Linked DNA regions of Homo sapiens: all the other regions are linked to region 1. The links are contacts of gene promoters, found by promoter capture Hi-C in blood cells and fetal thymus (Javierre and others, 2016). All regions are on one chromosome and are shown on one strand. The core of a region is centred on a gene start or on the middle of the fragment in contact, and the rest is flanking DNA. Distances in the headings are between cores, read along the strand shown. Region 1 holds the start of CHCHD6 (coiled-coil-helix-coiled-coil-helix domain containing 6). Region 2 holds the start of ANAPC13 (anaphase promoting complex subunit 13). Region 3 holds the start of SRPRB (SRP receptor subunit beta). Region 4 overlaps NPHP3 (nephrocystin 3).

What was found. Contacts are between HindIII fragments. The CHiCAGO score rates a contact against its expected background, and 5 or more counts as called.
Region 2: a contact is called between the fragment with the promoter of ANAPC13 here and the fragment with the promoter of CHCHD6 in region 1, in 5 of 17 cell types (activated CD4 T cells, total CD8 T cells, naive CD4 T cells and 2 more). The highest score is 13.1, in activated CD4 T cells.
Region 3: a fragment that was not itself captured here is called in contact with the fragment with the promoter of CHCHD6 in region 1 in 1 of 17 cell types (naive CD4 T cells); the score reaches 6.1 in naive CD4 T cells.
Region 4: a contact is called between a fragment that was not itself captured here and the fragment with the promoter of CHCHD6 in region 1, in 1 of 17 cell types (naive CD4 T cells). The highest score is 5.8, in naive CD4 T cells.

Annotation. Positions count from the first base shown.
Region 1 is chr3:126,701,736-126,706,218 of GRCh38, forward strand. It overlaps CHCHD6 (coiled-coil-helix-coiled-coil-helix domain containing 6), which reads left to right and starts at 2,505. Exons shown (of 8, transcript NM_032343.3): 1 at 2,505-2,664. The coding sequence starts at 2,578. RefSeq lists enhancers at 2,085-2,144, 3,205-3,756 and a silencer at 2,695-2,894. The HindIII fragment of the contact is 1,689 bases long and covers 1,884-3,572 here.
Region 2 is chr3:134,483,324-134,487,806 of GRCh38, forward strand. It overlaps ANAPC13 (anaphase promoting complex subunit 13), which reads right to left and starts at 2,662. Exons shown (of 3, transcript NM_015391.4): 1 at 2,629-2,662. It overlaps CEP63 (centrosomal protein 63), which reads left to right and starts at 2,734. Exons shown (of 15, transcript NM_001353108.3): 1 at 2,734-2,879. RefSeq lists enhancers at 2,317-2,436, 2,467-2,566, 2,647-2,756, 2,848-3,666. The HindIII fragment of the contact is 3,493 bases long and covers 1-2,841 here.
Region 3 is chr3:133,803,774-133,808,256 of GRCh38, forward strand. SRPRB (SRP receptor subunit beta) reads left to right here and starts at 2,042. Exons shown (of 7, transcript NM_001379313.1): 1 at 2,042-2,229; 2 at 2,836-2,930; 3 at 3,973-4,050. The coding sequence starts at 2,076. LOC105374116 (a long non-coding RNA gene) reads right to left here and starts at 1,710. Exons shown (of 3, transcript XR_924513.3): 1 at 1,315-1,710. RefSeq lists enhancers at 1,694-1,803, 1,894-1,953, 2,094-2,303, 2,414-2,463, 2,494-2,603. The HindIII fragment of the contact is 1,371 bases long and covers 1,588-2,958 here.
Region 4 is chr3:132,717,257-132,721,739 of GRCh38, forward strand. NPHP3 (nephrocystin 3) reads right to left here. Exons shown (of 27, transcript NM_153240.5): 2 at 2,449-2,574; 3 at 1,738-1,888. NPHP3-ACAD11 (NPHP3-ACAD11 readthrough (NMD candidate)) reads right to left here. Exons shown (of 45, transcript NR_037804.1): 2 at 2,449-2,574; 3 at 1,738-1,888. Among named protein-coding and RNA genes, the nearest start is that of NPHP3-AS1, 2.3 kb to the right of the region's middle. The HindIII fragment of the contact is 846 bases long and covers 1,071-1,916 here.

The DNA of each region.
Region 1 (4,483 bases), core at 1,255-3,754:
TTGATGATTTGGGGTCTTTTGTGGTTCCATATGAAATGTTAGAATTGTTTTTTCTATTTATGTGAAAAATGTCATTAGAATTTTGATAATGATGACATTGAATGTGTAGATTACTTTGGGTAGTAAAGCCATTTTAACAATATTAATTCTTCTGATCTATAAACACAGGCTATCTTTCTACTTATTTATGTCTCCTATAGTATCTTTCAACAGTGTCTTATAATTTTTAGTGTGCAATTTTTTGTGTGCATCTTTCTTTCACCTCCTTGGTTAAATTTATTCATATTTTATTCTTTTTGGTGTTATTGTAAGTGGGATCATTTTCTTAATTTCTTTTTGAATAGTTTGTTGTCAGAAATCAGTAATAGGAAGAACTTTGGAAAATTCACACATGTGCGGAAATTAAACAACACATTCCTGAACAGCCAATGAGCCAAAGAATAAATCAAAAGGGGAATAAACAAGTATCTTGAGACAAATGAAAATGGAAACACAAGGTACCACAACTTATAGGATGCAATAGAAACATTTTTAAGAGGGAAGTTTATAGCGAAAAATACCTACATTAAGAAAAAAGAAAGACATCAAACAACCTAATTTTATATCTCAAGGAACTAGAAGAGGAACAAACTAAGCCCCAAAGTCAGCAGACTGAAGGAAATAAAAAAGATGAGAGCAGAAATAGAAACTAGAAAAACAACAGAAAAGATCAACAGTAAAGATCAACAAAATTAACAAACCTTAGCTAGACTAACCAAGAAAAAAGGTAATTCACATAAACAAAAGTATAAATGAAAGAGGAGACATTACAACTGATATCACAGAAATACAAAAGATCATAATCAACTACTATGAACAATTATACACCAAGAAACTGGATAATTTAGGAGAAATGGACGAATTCCCAGAAACATACCATCTATCCAAACTGAGTCTTGAAGAAACAGAAAATCTGAACAGACCAATAACGAGTAAGGAGATTGAATTAGTAATCATAAACCTCCAAGGAAAAGAGACAAAGGAAAGCCCAGGACCAGGTCTGACCACATCTTTACTCAGTTTTCCCCGCGGCCCCCGGTCCCCACCCCTCTTAGCCTGTCTCCCTAACTTCCTTTCTCCTGAGGTGCTCCCCCAGGAAACTCCTTGCACCAGAATCCCCTACGCAGGCTCTGCTTATAGGGAAGAAATGGACGACAGAGGTGATGGAGTGGGGTGCGCCAATGAAGTATTTTGAATGAAACTAGCAGACACCTTTGTTCCTAAAGATTCCATCGTCACACCAGCTCTGGGATGTTTACTAGCTTCTTCACCCTGAGCTATTCTCAATCTCAGAGCCTTACTGCTCTCTCTCAATCATTCTCTCCTCCTCACCCCTTTCTTTCCAGGTTGCCAATAGGAGCTCCAAATATTTTCTGGCTATTTCATGTAGCCATCTAGTTTTCCTCAGCTCGGCTTCAGGCGCACTTTTGCAAATCAAAGCCATTCAGCAACTCAGAGGAACAAAAAGGGGCTTATTTGAAGGTAGCAGTGTCTATGACTGGCAACCGTCTGTGTGCTCCCTTACACATAGGGTCCTGTGTAAGAAGCCTACACACAATGCCTGGCACACTGCACTCCACACATGGTATGTACACTCCTTGGGCAATGCCTCCTAACGGCTTAGGACCATTCCCTGTCCTCCCGGGGCGTTTAGAATAAAACCCACACTCAGACCCTGCCTCACAAGACCCGACATGATTTGGGTCCTCACCACTCCTCTGCCCTCTTCTCACTTTCCAGCCATGGGATGACCCCTCTTTCTCTTTTCCTGCCTGAGACTCCCAGGAAACCTCTTCCCCTACCTTTTTCTACATAAATCCTACTCTCCCGCCGGCTCAGTTCAAAGCTTCTTCCTCAGAGGTTGCTCTGGCCACTGAAATTAAAAGAGGCCTCCTTCTGTTCATTTTACTAGTGGCATCGCCATGCAGTTTTCCGTGTATTACAGTCAGTTTCCTTGCGTGCGTGTTTGGCTTTTCACTTGTTTTCCCCTTGCACTGTAAACCTCTCAAGGGCAGGACACTCGCTGTCTTGAGGGGCGCTGTAATGCCAGGGCCAGGTCCCTGCTCGTCTGGCGCTCAGCCCGTGCTGCTCTACACGTGTTTGCTGAATGAATGGAGCAGTGAACCCTCAGAAATTCGCCTCCAGATGAGCGCCTTGGCCGTCTCGGCGTCTCCTGGCCTCAGAACATCACCCTTGGCTCTCCCTCAAGGGGGAGCTCCCAAAGCGAGAACGTGACCCTGTCCTGCACCCAGCCCTCCACTCCAGGGCCTCCGCCGGTACACATCTTCGGCCTCAGCCTAACGCACTCTAGCAGGCACAGACCGCCACGCCCCCACCCCTCCAGACGGAAGGACTGCAATCCCCACAAGGCACCGCGACTCAGCGCCACCCGATTGGTGAAGCCTCTGGCGTCGGCCAATAGGACGTGGCTTTGTTGGCGTGTGCCGCGGCCGCGCGAGTCCTGGAAAGCGTTGTTGGCCCGGTTGCTCTGGAGCCGGGTCTCGGGTCTGGTGGCTGCCGGCCCTGCGGCATCTCGCCATGGGGAGCACGGAGAGCAGCGAGGGCCGCAGGGTGTCCTTCGGAGTGGACGAGGAGGAGCGGGTCCGGGTGCTGCAGGGTGTCCGGGTGAGCGGCGCCGCCTGGGCCGGGGCGGGCGTGGAGGCCGCGGGCGCGGGGGGGAGGTGCGGGGCGGAGCGCAGGGCCGGGGCTCTTTCCACGCGTGAGGGGCGTGGGGCTTGGGAGACTCCGGGGGCTCAGGCCAGGAAGAGGCTGAGCCGAGACGCGAGCCCGAGGCTGGCAGCCTTGGAGCTTCGCGACATGGGCTTCAGGGAAGGAGGAGTGAAGAACTGTACAGGTGCGAGGCCCCTGGGACACGAGGGACGCCCTGGCCACGTCCTGGCTCCGGTCGGCTTAGTTTTTACGTTTCTTGAATTTGCGCCCGGCCTCCCAGCCCGTGGCCCCTCAGGTGCGCGCATCTCGTTCTGGGTACGCGGTGTCTCCCACCTGGGCTTTGCCTGGGGACTCAGCTCTTCCCCGCCGGCCTGTTCTCCACAGCACATCTGCGGGGCGCAGGAAGAACCATAGCTCAGATCTGATCCCCTTCCTTGCCTGAAACCCTCCAGTGGGTTCCTAGCGCGCTTGGATGATGCCTTCCCTGGTTCCAAAGCTGGCCGCTGCCCGTCGACCTCTGGGGACTGCATCCCTCTGGGACTGCATCTCGTGCCATTTCCCTCGCGTGGCACCCGCACCTCGTCCCCAGCCTCAGGACCGCCGTGTTTTCCTGGAGGGTGCCGCTGGCTCAGCTCAGGGTCTGTGCGCCGGCTGTTCTCTCTCCTTCAGCTCTCCTTAAATCCCGCTGTTTCTTGTAATTCTTGTTGTAATTCAGATATCACCAGAGAATCCTTCCCTGACCACCCAATCTGAAGTAACCTCCCACCCCGCGTCCAACATTTATTATTTTCATAGCACTCATCACAGTGATCGCTTCTGTTGATAATTGTTTACTTGTTTATTGCGTTTACTGCTAGAGTGTAAGCTTTTTGAGGCTAAGGTTCCTGTCTGATTGAAGACTGTCCCCAGAACCCAGAAGAATAAAAGCAGCTCTTATTGCAGTGTAGGGGCCATGCGTTGGACTAAACCCTTTATAAGTTAACTGATTTAATTTTCAACAGCCCTATTTAGCCCATTATTGTAGATTAAGGAGAAGTGAGGCACTGAGAGGTGAACGAACTGATCCAAGATCATGTAAATAGTAAGTGGGAGAGCTGGGATTGAAACAAGCCAATTCCAGGGCATGTTGCTGTGCTCGGCCTCTTCCTCCACCTGTGTCTACACCTGCAGGTGCTTTGTAAGTAACTGTGGAGAGATGAATGAACCCAGTAAAAGGGACTAGGATTAAATGAAACGCACAGAGCTGGGTGTAGATGAATTAGTTAATTAAGGAGGAATTAGGGAGGTGGCTTAGAAAGACAGACTTCAGGAGTTCTGGCAGGTGCTCATTAGCTGTGTGACCTTGGGTAAAAAACTCTTTTGAGCCTCAATGGCCACATTAAAAAAAAAATTGGGTGTGTATGTATCCTAGGTACTGCCTAGGATAAGATGATGTCTGTGAAAGTGTTAAGGAAACGCACAGAGAGAGTGCTTTGTGGAGGCCTCTCTTCTTAGCCTAGCAGAGTACTTGGCACATTTGGTGCTTGCTAGGCGTTGTATAGTTTTGTGGACCTCACTCGTGGCAAGGATTAAATGGGGGAGGAGATGGCTTGTGTTGGAAGGCCGAGAGGGAGGAACCTGAATTGGAATTTAGAAAGATAAGCTTGGCTCTGTTTGGGTGCTCTCACCCTTGTGATTTGGTCTCCTGTTTTGGGGAATGTTGGAAAGTTAAGTTGGAGTCCTCAGAGGTTCAGGGGAGTGCCTTTGGGGGTGCCTTCTTTCAAGTTGATTGGAA
Region 2 (4,483 bases), core at 1,412-3,911, 7.8 Mb after region 1:
CCCTGGCTCAAACCTCAGCATTCTTAGGCACAGGAGTCACACGAACATACTGTAAAGGAAACGGCTTCCTTCCCTAAAATAGTACCCAGGCTGAGATCTGAATAAAGCACTTCTAGGTGAACACCAGTGGTAGAACCTCATACTGCTAAAGTTTCTCCAGTTTCTGCTTCCCTTTGGGGTAGCTCCTTCCTCGGAGGTTCCTTCCTCTAATTCTTAACGCTACACTCCCTTCAATTTCTGGCCCAAATGGTCACGATGCTTATTTAGCTCCTTGACCATGGCTGATTCCCCATTTTTCTCTGAAACTGCTATAATCTAATCCAAAAGGCTGGCTAGCTTGTAGGATACTTCTGGATTTCCCTGTTTCCAAGGTTGGGCCCTGACTCATCATAGGCATCATCCTATGGGTGCTCCCTGCTACCAAGTGACAATCCAAAAAGCCCGGAAGCCACTGGCATCAAAGGTACTCTCAGTTTCTGAGACTATGGAGACTCACACAATAAGCAATTTTGGGGTGGTGGAGCGGGGTGGAACCCACCATCTGGAGGTGCTTTTTTCAGAGCTCAGCCTGGGTGATATTTTAAGGAAGGAAGCCATTTCCTTTACAAGCTCAACTTCAGACATCGTCTTGCCTTGAGGATTTGTGTCAGGTCTGTAGTTGGTCCCTTCGCATAGTCCAGTTTAGTGTTATCTCAGTATGTTCATGAGCTCCTGTGCCTAAGAACGCTGAGGTTTGGGCCAAGGCAGGTGGAAGTTTTTGTAAAAATGGCTCACAGGGCCGGGCGCGGTGGCTCGCGCCTGTAATCCAGCACTTTGGGAGACCGAGGTGGGCGGATCACGAGGTCAGGAGATCAACACCATCCTGGCTAACAGGGTGAAACCTCGTCTCTACTAAAAATACAAAAAATTAGCCGAGCATGGTGGCAGGCGCCTGTAGTCCCAGCTACTCGGGAGGCTGAGGCAGGAGAATGGCGTGAACCTGGGAGGCGGAGCTTGCAGTGAGCCGAGATAGCGCCACGCGCCACTGCACTCCAGCCTGGGCGACAGAGCAAGATTCCGTCTCGGAAAAAAAAAAACAAAAAAAACCAAAAAGGCTCACAGCTGTCCCCCATAGGATAACTGCAAGATATCCCTAACACCTTGGCAAAAATTATACACAGATTGGTGTGGGAAAGGGTTTACACCCCCATGACAAGGATCTCGGCAAAAGTTAAGCAAAATGCGCCCTGCTACTTCTGTCACCGGTGAGCCAGGTGAGGGCTTAATTAATCCAGTACTCAATAATTAACCGAGTACTACCCAGTGGATAACTCAAAGCAAGACGAAGTTTTGGTTATACTTTTGAAGTCCCTGTCTTACAAGTGCTCCCCACTTTCCTGCTGCTACTCCTTTGTCCTTGCTGCTCTGTCTCCTGGGATACCCTTCTCACTTTCCTCAGCTGATCCAAACCTGACTTTCGGAGGCCCACGTAGATTTTCCACCTTTGTAAAGTTTTCTCAAATCACTCGAGCTTCAGTAGGCCTTCTATCCTTGAACTCTTGCTTCTTGTCCTAACTTAATCTACTAAACAAGCTAGGTCAGCTTTGTGGTCAATTGCTCAGGTATTATTGCCTCCAACTGTTACGTGTACATTTTGTACCCATGATTCCTTAGTAGATCTTTCCACATTTGGTCTCAATCTTTTTCACCTGTCCCTTCTCCAAACACCTCCAACCCTGTCACATTTTCCAGCCTTGACAGTTAAAACCCCCTTTTCCACATCACTAATGCCACTCTTCCTTTCAAGATAAACGCAGGCGTCAGCTCTTGAAGGTCAACATCCCATTTCCGGGATTAGGCGCGAAGGTGCCTTCCCTCATAAGGGGCTGGAAGGATGGGAAGCATCAAGATAATCAATGCCCAGGGCACACTGATTATCTTGTGTATTAAAGCCACCGTCCCAAGTACTCGTCACCCAGTACGACCACTGTTTCCTGAACAAACTTTTCTTACTCACGTGACAGTCCCGATGCCTGCAATGCTCTTTGTTTCTTCCTTTTTATTCCAGTGAACCCACAGTCAGTCTAAAAATCTTAGGTCCCAGGTCGCTTCCTATAGGAGGCCGCCTCCAAACCCCAGGCTGAGTGCGGTCCCGGTACCCACCCCTCCAGGGGTCTCACAGTTCCCTAAGCACAGAGCATGGCACCAACTGGGGAGTCTGTCAAACAGCCCAGATGAATGTCTTTCCAAACACGCGGTGCCTGCGTTTCCAGGGACAGGGACACGTCTTATCAATTTCTATATATTACAGCTTTGTAAACATAATATTTATAAAATCAAAGCGGGAAAGCCTTGTTCCTTGCTAGAAATGAGCCTCGCAGGCCACCACCATCCGCACCGTACGACAGGCCGTCCCTCAGCTGCGGCTTCCTGCCTCAGGCAGGATGTACCAAACGTGGAAGCGGAGACGGGGAGGTCTGGGGGTGCCACGCAAGTCCCTTTCCTCCCGACACGAGTGCAGTAAAGAAAAACGGTTATGAGCGTAAAGTGACAGCCTCGGCCGATGGGAATAGGGGGAAGTCCGACACTGAGCAACGAACGCATTCCCGCGCCTCCAAAACCTAGGCCGGGGGCGCTGGAAACCCTTACCGGCACCCGGCCACCGCGGCAGACGCTTGCTCCTGCCACGCCCCCCCCCCCTCCCCCGCATCACGTGTCTGCACTCGCTTTCCTCGGATTCCCGGATGTGGGTGAGTTCATTTGCTCGCGTGCAGGGGAAGTCTGGAGAAGGCATTGTTTCAATTATTAAAAGTGTGGGGGCAGTGGGCGGAACAAACGCGCCGACTACAGAGGCTGGACGTAAGCTTAGCGGTGGCGCGCGTGCGCAGCGCCGGCCCGAGGTAACGGCGGGAAGGCTCAGGGGCGTGCTTGCGGCAACCCTGTAACCGCCGGTGCGCAAGTTGGAGGGGCAAGGGGCTGCCGTGTCCTGGTCTGGAGGCGGCCCAGGCTGCCTTGGTGATTCTGGCTTCGCGGCCTCATGGCTTGCGGCCGGTTTGCGCAACGGCCTGCGAACCACCAGGCGCGTCCCCGCCGGCTTGGGTCCGCCCCGAAGCCCAGTCCCTCGGCCTGGCCCGCTATGCCCTGCACACTGGCGGAGTCTGGCGTGGCGCAGCCCGGCGTGGGGTTCGGCCCCGCCAGGTGGTCAGCCCTTCCTCGGAGTCCAGGTGGCTGGGGGCGCTTCGGAGAGTGGCCAGGTGGGCGAGCGAGCTGCGCCCAGTACTCACCTTCCCCGGCGGACCCACCTTCCTTTTCAGCGGAGAGACCCCAGTGCGGCCTCCCTGCCAGGGCTGCTGTCTAGCTAGCGCTGTTGGGACTACTTCATTCACGGCACAAGGGGACCCGCTCATTTAGTGTGGCATGTTAAGGTTGGCAGCTTTTAAAATAGTGAGTTGGTTTAAACGGTTATGTTAGTACAAGAGGTACGGAAATGTGGCATAAATCGTGGACTGAAATTGGAGAACCCTGAACTAACGGCTCCATGCACACAAATGAGGGATAGAAAGAAATAAGGACGGTTTCTTAGGAACACTTTAATCATGGAGATACTTGAAGACAGTACATTTAGGCTTATAATGTGGTTTTTCTTACGTCCCTTACGACATCAGGAGAGTAAAGATGAGTATGATGTCAGAGACAGGTCGTCTTTTACAGTTTCAGCACCGTACGCTGATATGCACAGAGTAGTTTTCCCTGAGCCTTATGTCTGGTTAAACTTATTAAAAGAATTTATTATTTTAATAAAGCAGTATTGTAGGGTAGATGCCCTGTATTTATACAGTTCCTCAAGTGCTTGCATTTATTTTTTAGATACGAGGAAATCATAAGGATCGTTGATTAGATTTCTGTTAGCTGTAGCTTAATGATAAAGTGTATATATTTTCTTATTTGGCATGCAGTACCATTTTTAGATTGATTTTTATTTTGAGTTTGCTTTTTGACTGTGGCATTATCAGTGATCAGGGTAGTAAAAAGCTCTGAAACTAAATTAGAGTAGAGATTTATAAACAGGCACACTGCCTTTTAAAATGTATGTAGATGCAAATCTAAAAGTTGTTTGTAAAAATTGTGTATGTTGATTGTACTGATGCCATTTCCTCTCGTTAAAATGGTGGAAGACCTTTGCTTAGTCCTTTCTGTTCTAATTTATGTTGTGCTGGCAGATGGTGACAGCATCAGTAGTCCACTCTGTCATTGCTTCCTGCTTTCAAAAAATGTCAACTTGACTTGAAATTCAGCTAAAGCCAACATTGACAGAAGGTTTCAGGAACTGAATCTCCGATCTTTATGTTATTTTAGTCCGCCTCCCCGCCCCCATCAGGAGCTAGGTTTTTCAGTTTTACAGAGCCACAGTACTGTCATTACACATACACAAATTAATAAAAATTCTCTAATGTCAATATCCAGTCAGATAACGATTTCTTCAACTGTCTCTTAAATGTCTTTT
Region 3 (4,483 bases), core at 1,023-3,522, 7.1 Mb after region 1:
CTGCCTCAGTCTCCCAAGTAGCTGAGACTGCAGGCATATGCCACCATGCCTGGCTAATTATTTTTTAATTAAAGAAAATGTTTTAGGCCGAGGTGGGTGGATCACGAGGTTAGGAGATCGAGACCATCCTGGCTAACATGGTGAAACCCCGTCTCTACTAAAAATACAAAAAATTAGCCGGGCATGGTGGCAGGCGCCTGTAGTCCCAGCTACTCGGGAGGCTGAGGCAGGAGAATGGCGTGAACCCGGGAGGCGGAGCTTGCAGTGAGCCGAGATCGCACCACTGCACTCCAGCCTGGGCAACAGAGCGAGACTCTGTCTCAAAAAAAAAAAAAAAAAAAAAGAAAAAAGAAAATGTTTTTTGCAGAGACAGAGTCTCACTATGTTGCCCAGGCTGGTCTTGAATTCTTGGCCTCAAGCAATCCTCCTGCCTTGGCCTCCCAAAGCGCTGGGATTAATAGCTGTGAGTCACCGGGTCCTCCCCCAGTTCCTCTCTTTTTCCTTGTCCCTGTGCATGGTGAGGTTTTGTGTGGCCCTGAGTGGTATCAAGCTAAATAACAAGCAGAGAGGGACGCTCTAAAAGAAAATAATATTTATTCTGGAATAGGCATTGCAATGGGACTACGCATGCCATAGTCAACTATGTGCATATTCAGGGGGGTGTAAAGGAAGACAAAGATTTTTAAAGAAAAAATGAGTCAGATTCCATAATTGTTTTAAGATAATTATCCTTGGCTACAAGGATCAAATGGCAAGGATGGCATCAGTACTAGGTTGGACAGGGAGTTGCTGGGTAGCCGTCCTAACAGATGTATTTTTTTGTGTGTAAGGTTGCGATGGCCTTTGTGCAAGTCTGTGGTTTTTGCAGTCTTTTGTGACAGTTTTTGTCATCAGGCATGGGTGCCTGAGAACCCTCCCTCCATGGCCTTTCACCAGCTCCATTTTTCTGATTAAAAAAAAAAATACAAGTGACTCCATTTTGATGCTGACAACTTTTTCAATGGCAATGTGGAACTGTAATAAACTTTTTTCAATCTTTCAGTGACACTGACATCTTCATGTCTCTACTCAGCCATACAATTAAATTAAATAATGTGTACATTTTAAAACAATGACAGCTGTTTAATGACAGAGACTGTGAACTGGGACCCTCTAGGCTGGCCACTTTTGGTGTTTTATTTGGGCCACAAGTTTTTGAATGCTTTCAATTACCTACAGAAAATTTCAAAAGTGGAAAATTTCCTATAAAAATCTGCCTTTATTGCTTCTCTTGAAAACTGGAAGAACCGGCCACCCAGGTCCCATAACACCTACCTGGCTGAATAGGGTCGGCCCTACTTTCAGCAGAAATACCTCCTGCAGTTTTCAACAGCCCCAGCTCTCCTGGGCGTTGATTTTCCTAGTTGCTTCCTTTAATGCAGACATTTGAGTTTGCAGCCCTAGATTGACAGTGTAGGGGCACTGAATTACTTAGGGTTCCCACATACATCGTTTCTTACACTCATTTTCTTCTGCACAGCACCTTTTTTTCCTTTAACCACTCGCAGATGCTAACTCATTCTTCAGGACTCAATTCCAATGTCCAGAAGCTTTTCTCTGAACTCATGATGGACTCCGCGTCCCATTATGTATTCCCACATCGCTCCGTACATCCATCTGTCACATCCCTTGTCACATTAAATTCAGATTAAATGTTTGTAGGATGCTTGAGTTCTTCACAAGTCTCACGTCACTTAGCGACGGTCGGGAACTCCTCAGTGGTAGTTTCGGGAGCCATTCATTCATTTTATTCATTTCATCATTCTTTCAACAGTCATAACGTAGGTGACGACGACTGACTCATCTCTTAAAAGATGTGTGTGTCCCTCGACAAATAACCTGTCTGCCCCTATCGTTCTGTAGGAGGACGGAGTCCCAGAGAACTACAACTCCCATCAAGCACTTGGGGGATCGCCGCGGCTGAGGGAGAGACTATGGCTTAGGAACCACCATTCGCGTGAGGCTCTGCTCCCCGCGCCTGCGCAGAGTGCAGGGCCACGTCGCTTTTGCTGTACCGGGGACCACGCGTCTCATCCATGGCTTCCGCGGACTCGCGCCGGGTGGCAGATGGCGGCGGTGCCGGGGGCACCTTCCAGCCCTACCTAGACACCTTGCGGCAGGAGCTGCAGCAGACGGACCCAACGCTGTTGTCAGTAGTGGTGGCGGTTCTTGCGGTGCTGCTGACGCTAGGTAAAAGGCGGCCGGTGGTCATGGCGGGTTTGGGGCGGGCAGAGGTCCGGGCTTTGGCTGCACCGCTGCAGGCCGGGGACGCGGGGCTGAGAGGGCGCCTTGAGGGCATCAGGAGGGTGAGACCCACCCAGTCTACACCCCACCCTCTCTCCTGAAGCAGCGGCAGCAGCTGGGCGTTAAGGGGGATGCCGGGCAACCCCCGGAGTTAACGTCCTGGTCCTTGGGGCGCAGATTGCTCTTCGTCATCTGCCCTGTTACGCTTGAGCGCGCTGTTCCTCGCCTTCCGCTGTTCTCACTGCAAAGACTCAGGGTCTTGACACCAACTTTCAGCCTCCCGTGTTTGCGTGCGGGCGCTGGGATACCAAGGTAGTGAGATAGCACCTGAGTCCCAGTCAGAGTAAGGACTGCAAAGAAAAGTTGACAGTTGACAGTGCCTGGCTCTCAGTGGATCCCTAACAACAGCAATAGTAACCATTATGATAAAAGTCAGTTCCAGGTGAATGAGGTGTTTCGTCACAGACTTCTGTGAATTTCCCCACCCCAGCCATGCACATATACTGATTCCCAAGGCGTAATTTTTGTTGTTTTTCTCTGTCTATTCCACAGTCTTCTGGAAGTTAATCCGGAGCAGAAGGAGCAGTCAGAGAGCTGTTCTTCTTGTTGGCCTTTGTGATTCCGGGAAAACGTTGCTCTTTGTCAGGGTAAATGATTTCATTGACACCCCTGTTAAGCTTAATAGAAAATTTTATAGATCCCAGTATTCCTGTCATCTCACGGTTTATTTTGTAAAAGAAGCTGATGCTGTTAAATTTGGAAGTTAATTCTTGACTTACTTGGGAGAACAAAAAGACTCGTAGAAACCCATAATTGAGAAATATTGGTCATTTCTCCTTTTTTTTTTCTGTTTGCCCTTGCCAGATGCTGATATTTAGTCTTTATCACATTCAAGGATTTTATTTAATTAGTTTCATTCCAGAATAGCAGAAGGCATAGAAGCTAGTGTCCTACAGTTTATAATTCCTTCGTTAACAAATTCTTAGGACAGTTTATCGAAGACACTTTTTCACAGGGTGATCCTTCTTTGACATAGTGGGCTAGTTAGGCTTCTTTTTACTAATATTTATTTTTAATACATTTAGTATTTTTAACAGTGTATTTTAATGTGGTGAATAGGAGAGGTTTTCTGCTTTTTAACTCTTCTTTTTGAGAGTATAAATTATTTCCCTTCCATTAAAGAAATACCTCCATTTTTTTTTTTTTTTTTTTTTTGAGGGAGTGTCTCACTCCAATGCCCAGGCTGGAGTGCAGTGGCGAGATCTCTGCTCATTGCAGCCTTGACCTCTGGGACTCAGATGATTCTCCCACCTCAGCCTCCGAGTAGCTGGGACTACAGGCGTGCAACACTACGCCCGGCTGATTTTTTATATTTTTTGTAGAGATGAGATTTTGCCATGTTGCCCAGGCTTCAAATCATTTTTGTTGGTTAAAAATCTTTACAGAAGCTTGGCAAATTTGGCCACTAACTGTCTTTTGAGAATAATGTTGTTTTTATTCCACTGAGGAGTAAAATATGCAATTAATTAGATTTTTTTCTACAGGTAAAAAAAATCAATATCGTCTTTTTCACCTGTCGGAAGCAGCATTCATTTACTTAACCTTACACCTGGGAGACTTAGAATAATATAACTCAATTTAGGTGTGCTATTAAAATGTTGAATATCACCCATCTTGTTTTTTTTACAGTTGTTAACAGGCCTTTATAGAGACACTCAGACGTCCATTACTGACAGCTGTGCTGTATACAGAGTCAACAATAACAGGGTAAGATGTTTGTGGAGTTTTGGAGTCTGACAGTCTTACTTTACTGTGGTGTGTCAGTTAAGGACATTTTTAGGATGAGTTCATCTGAGGATGTAAGTACCATTTGTAGCTTATTTTTATGGAGAAACATATTCTTTGTGACAAATTCTCTTGACAATCTGTACAGTAGATTTAATCATGCCCTCCTCTGCATTGTTGTACCTTAATGTACAGTAATGTTATATCACATTTTATTCTTATTTTTTGTTTCTGTGTCTTCTTTCCAACTTTACAATGAGTTCTTAAGAGTGGGCATTAAACCTTTTAAGTTTTGAATAGGTAATACATGCACATGGGACAAAAATTCAAAAGGTTAGAAAAGATATTTGGTGAAAAGTAATTTTTCCTTTCCTTTCCCCACTACCTAGTTTTCTCCTCAGAAGCAGTGACTTAC
Region 4 (4,483 bases), core at 244-2,743, 6.0 Mb after region 1:
CTGAAGGAAAAAACCTCAAAGGCAGACTGTTACTAACACACATAAATATAAAAATATTCATAATTTATTAGGACATAAACTCTTTGCAGCAGGAAGTACCTCCTTCTCAACCTCCTAGAGCAACAAAATTAATGTCTGAATCAATAGCTACTTATGAACATGATGATTTTCTAATCAATTATATTTGTCAGAATATCTACATCCTTGATAACCTTAAGTAAATGGTTATTTGAGCTAAATCTCTGGCAAAACTGAGCTTACTATTTGTAGCTCTTTGAATCTCACATGGGTGACATTCCCCCTCAAGTGTTCCTTCTTCATGTTTAAAACAAAAATGAAAAAAGACCTAGAAAGGAATTTGTTTCTAACTTGCCAAGACAATTACAATAGTTTTGAAACACTGTACATTTGAGTATGTCAATACTGAAATAATCACTAAGACTTGTGTTGGGGTATAAAAGAGCATTTTCTCAGCTACTCTTGGCCATTAAGAATCTTTTTTTTTTTTTTTTTTTTTTTTTGAGATGAGTCTGGCTCTGTTGCCACACTGGAGTGCGGTGGCGCGATCTTGGCTCACTGCAACCTCCACCTCCTGGGTTCAAGTGATTTTCCTGCCTCAGCCTCCCGAGTAGCTGGGACTACAGGCACGCACCACCATGCCCAGCTAATTTTTGTATTTAGTAGAGACGGGGTTTCACCATGTTGGCCAGGATGGTCTTGATCTTTTGACCTCGTGATCCGCCCGCCTTGGCCTCCCAAAGTGCTGGTATTACAGGCATAAGCCACCGTGCCCGGCCTTCATTTTTTTTCCTTAAAAGTTAGCAATAAAAATTCCAGGATGTTGGTCAGATTCCAATGATACTACAATGAAAATTAAGAAGGAACTGTCAGTTACCATATTTTACTCCAAAATGCATCCATTTGTGAGAATATACTTACAGTTCATTACAAATGGGAGAGTGACTACATTTTTCCACTGCATTTTAAAATAGAATATTTTTCTTTTTTCAGTATCAATCACACTTTAACATTTTCTTAGAATATGTAAACCCTTTCACTCTGTGATTTCAAGCTTTTATTTCCAGAAAACATGTTTCATTTGTTTAATTATAAAACAAATACTTTTTGAATAGTTCACAAGGCTATACTGGAAACCACTCAGTGAACTATAAGGCAAGTATTCTAAATGATAGTTGCAAAGAATACATCATTATGTAAAGAAATAACATTGCAGAGACTAGTAACTCCAATATCCATTCTCCTCTTCTTTCTTCAGTAACAGAACACTACATTTTAGTTGGACACATGTCTGCCTGGCTGCTGATTACACTATCCAGTCTTCCCAGTTATAGTTCTGACTAATGGGATTTGAGAAGTGATCTTAGGTTGTACCTTCTGGGAAAGGAACGTGTTCTCCCCTTCCTTCTTTCCCTTGGCTAAAATGCAGATGTGCTGGTGGGAGCTGGGGTAGATATCTTAGACTAGAGAGTAAAAGTTATGGGTTAGGGTTGGCAGAGTGACAAGGTAGAAGGAACTTCAGTCCCCAAATTCATACACTTCGTGGAGAAGAGGTGTCTTAGCAGCTGACAGAGAGAACACACGACACTATTTGCAACAGTAGTTAAAGCAATAACCTAATATAGATAAGTAAAAGAAATCTAGCAGAATTCAAAGTTGGCTCTACATGTCATTACAGCCATGTTGAAAGCTCAAAATATAAATAGGATATACACTTACCAGTGACATCTGTACAGTTGTCATCTGAATCAGACTCCCCAGGATCAAATACTTGGATACCCTGAGCCTGTAGCCTCTGAAGTTTGCTCTCCAACTCCCTCTTGGCCCTCAGTAAGTCCTGAATTTCATTTTCTTTGGTCTCCCTAAAAATCTTTAAAAAGAATAATTTTAATGTTGAAAGCTTTTTCATAATCAAAAAGTTGTGTCATCAACTTTAAGGGAAAAATATTTCATTCATAAAACCAATATTCATTTGGTCCTCGATTTCCTCTTTCATAGGGTGAATGTCCTAGTACCTTTACCTTACTGTTTTGCAACTGGAAGCCACTGGAATTCCAGCAGGATGCGTGTCTGTGGTGTGGGTCTGTCATGTGCACTGCATGATGTTTAGGAAATTTGTCTCTCTCCCACTAAATACCAATAATACAACATCCCTAAACATTTCCAAATGCTTTTCCCCATATGGAAACGCTTTCCTTTTTTTCGAAATTACTATTAAAATGTTCACTTTCATACGTTTTTCTTTGAAATGATCTCAAGTTTACCACGTCCAACTCAAAAATGTGAAAGTGCTCTACACTAATTCTTACAACTTTCCTGAATCCTACATGACTTACTTCTATTTATTCATCGCATTATATATTATATATACTTTTAGAATATACTATTTTATTCTATGTTGCTTTGGGGGTAAAAATGTAAGGAATTTACCTTGAATTGCCTTTTAACTTTATCTCTGTCATGTTCAAATGTTGCTGCTCTCTCCATTGCTTGGTATTTCGCTTCTAAAGCACTTTCTTTTTCTCGAAGTATCTTCTGATACGTTTTTTGAAGTGCCTAGAATAATTTACCTTGTTATTTCCTAACAAAAATAGTCTTGCTCCTCAATTTTACATTCTTATATATATACATATATATATATATATGTTACGTATCTTAGAATTTTAAGTCTACTTATTATTTTACCAATTATCAGGAACTTCATGTTGCCATTTTATTCAAAACATGATGGAAAAAAACCGCAACCATGCTTGAACTACCACAAATAAAGACCAACATTAAGCTTTCAATGGAAATTAACTTTTTTTGAAACACTGCATCAGCTCTTAAACTTCCTTATGCCTTTTCCATCTTTGTGATAGTAAAAATTACATTTTGTAAGGCTTAACTTGAAGGATAAGTAGTTCTAAGAGACTGTGTGCCTGTTGGCACTATGTCTTATTCATCTCACCATCCCTTGAGCACTTCACAGTGCCTGGTACACTGCAAGTCTCCAGTAAATGTCTGACACAATGAATGAAATAAATATGGATAAGTTTTTTCATGCCTCGATATGTGAGAAAGGAACCAGTATGTTTCACAGGGAATCAGGATTGGTGACATGAGTGACTGTGACACTTGCCAACCCTTATTGCACTCCGCCCTGTTTGGTTTGGCCTTTTCTACCCCCACCTCACAGTTGTTTCCAACGTGCGGTGTCTGTTGGGCAGTGGCTTGGATACATTGAATCAGATATTTGAAATGCACTAGTCCATTTTATACATGCAAGTGCATTAAGGTTGCCCAGTAGGAAAACTGATAAGACAACAGATAAACTGCTACACGGACTTCTTCCCAGACAACGACAATAATTACACAACAGCTAATGAGGGAGTTTAAAAACAAAAACAACAACAACAACAACAACAAAACCTGACTAGAAGAATGTCTAGTCTTGAAGACAGGAGGCTTTTTTTCTTTTAGAAAAATCAGTCTGAGGTATTTATTTCACCCCGACTGTAACGACTCCGGGAACTCTTAGGCTGCCTATAAGTCTCTCCCACAGTAAAGAGTACACAAACGACACAACAACGACCAGAGGGGCCCCAAACTGAGGGCAAAAAGTTTTAGAGATTCGTTCACAGAAAAGCAACCTCTTGCTTTATACTATTTTTTTTTTTTTGATACGGAGTCTCGCTCTGTCACCCAAGCTGGAGTGCAATGGTGCAATCTCGGCTCACTGCAACCTCCGCCTCCCGGGTTCAAGCAATTCTCTTGCCTCAGCCTCCTGAGTAGCTGGGATTACAGGCGCGTGCCACCATGCCCGGCTAATTTTTGTATTTTTAGTAGAGACGGGGTTTCACCATGTTGGCCAGGCTGATCTCGAACTCCTGACCTCAGGTGATCCGTCCGCCTAGGCCTCGAAAAGTGTTGGGATTACAGGCGTGAGCCACCACGCCCGGCTGCTTTACATACTATTTTATTGAATTATAATGGACCTGCTACATGGAGGGCATGCAATAATTGCTTTTAGCGTAAATTAATCAAATGGACTAGGGAAATTTGACTACATCTAGAGAAGGTTTTCAACCATGGTGAGATCAGGAGGCTTCCAGAAATTTTCATGTCAAGACCATTAAAATGCAAGAGCGATGAAACTTTACAAAGAAACCGACACTTGAGCCCCACTTTGGAGACCCACTTAAAATTTTTATGGTGGGGAGGGGGGTGAAACTCCTAGGAAGAGTTTGCTGAGTTGCTTCAACAGATGTCACCAGCCTTCTGAGGGGGTGGGCGCGGGGGCGGCAGTGGAGCTGGAGATTGGCATTTGCCTCCTCAGGACACTTTCCGGCTAATTTCTTCTAGGTGCCTCAATGAATAAACCAGAAATAGAAAAGCGGGGACCAGGCGCGGTGGCTCACTCCTGTAATCCCAGAACTTTAGGAGGCCGAGGCGGGAGGATCATTGAGCCCAGGAGTTCCAGGTT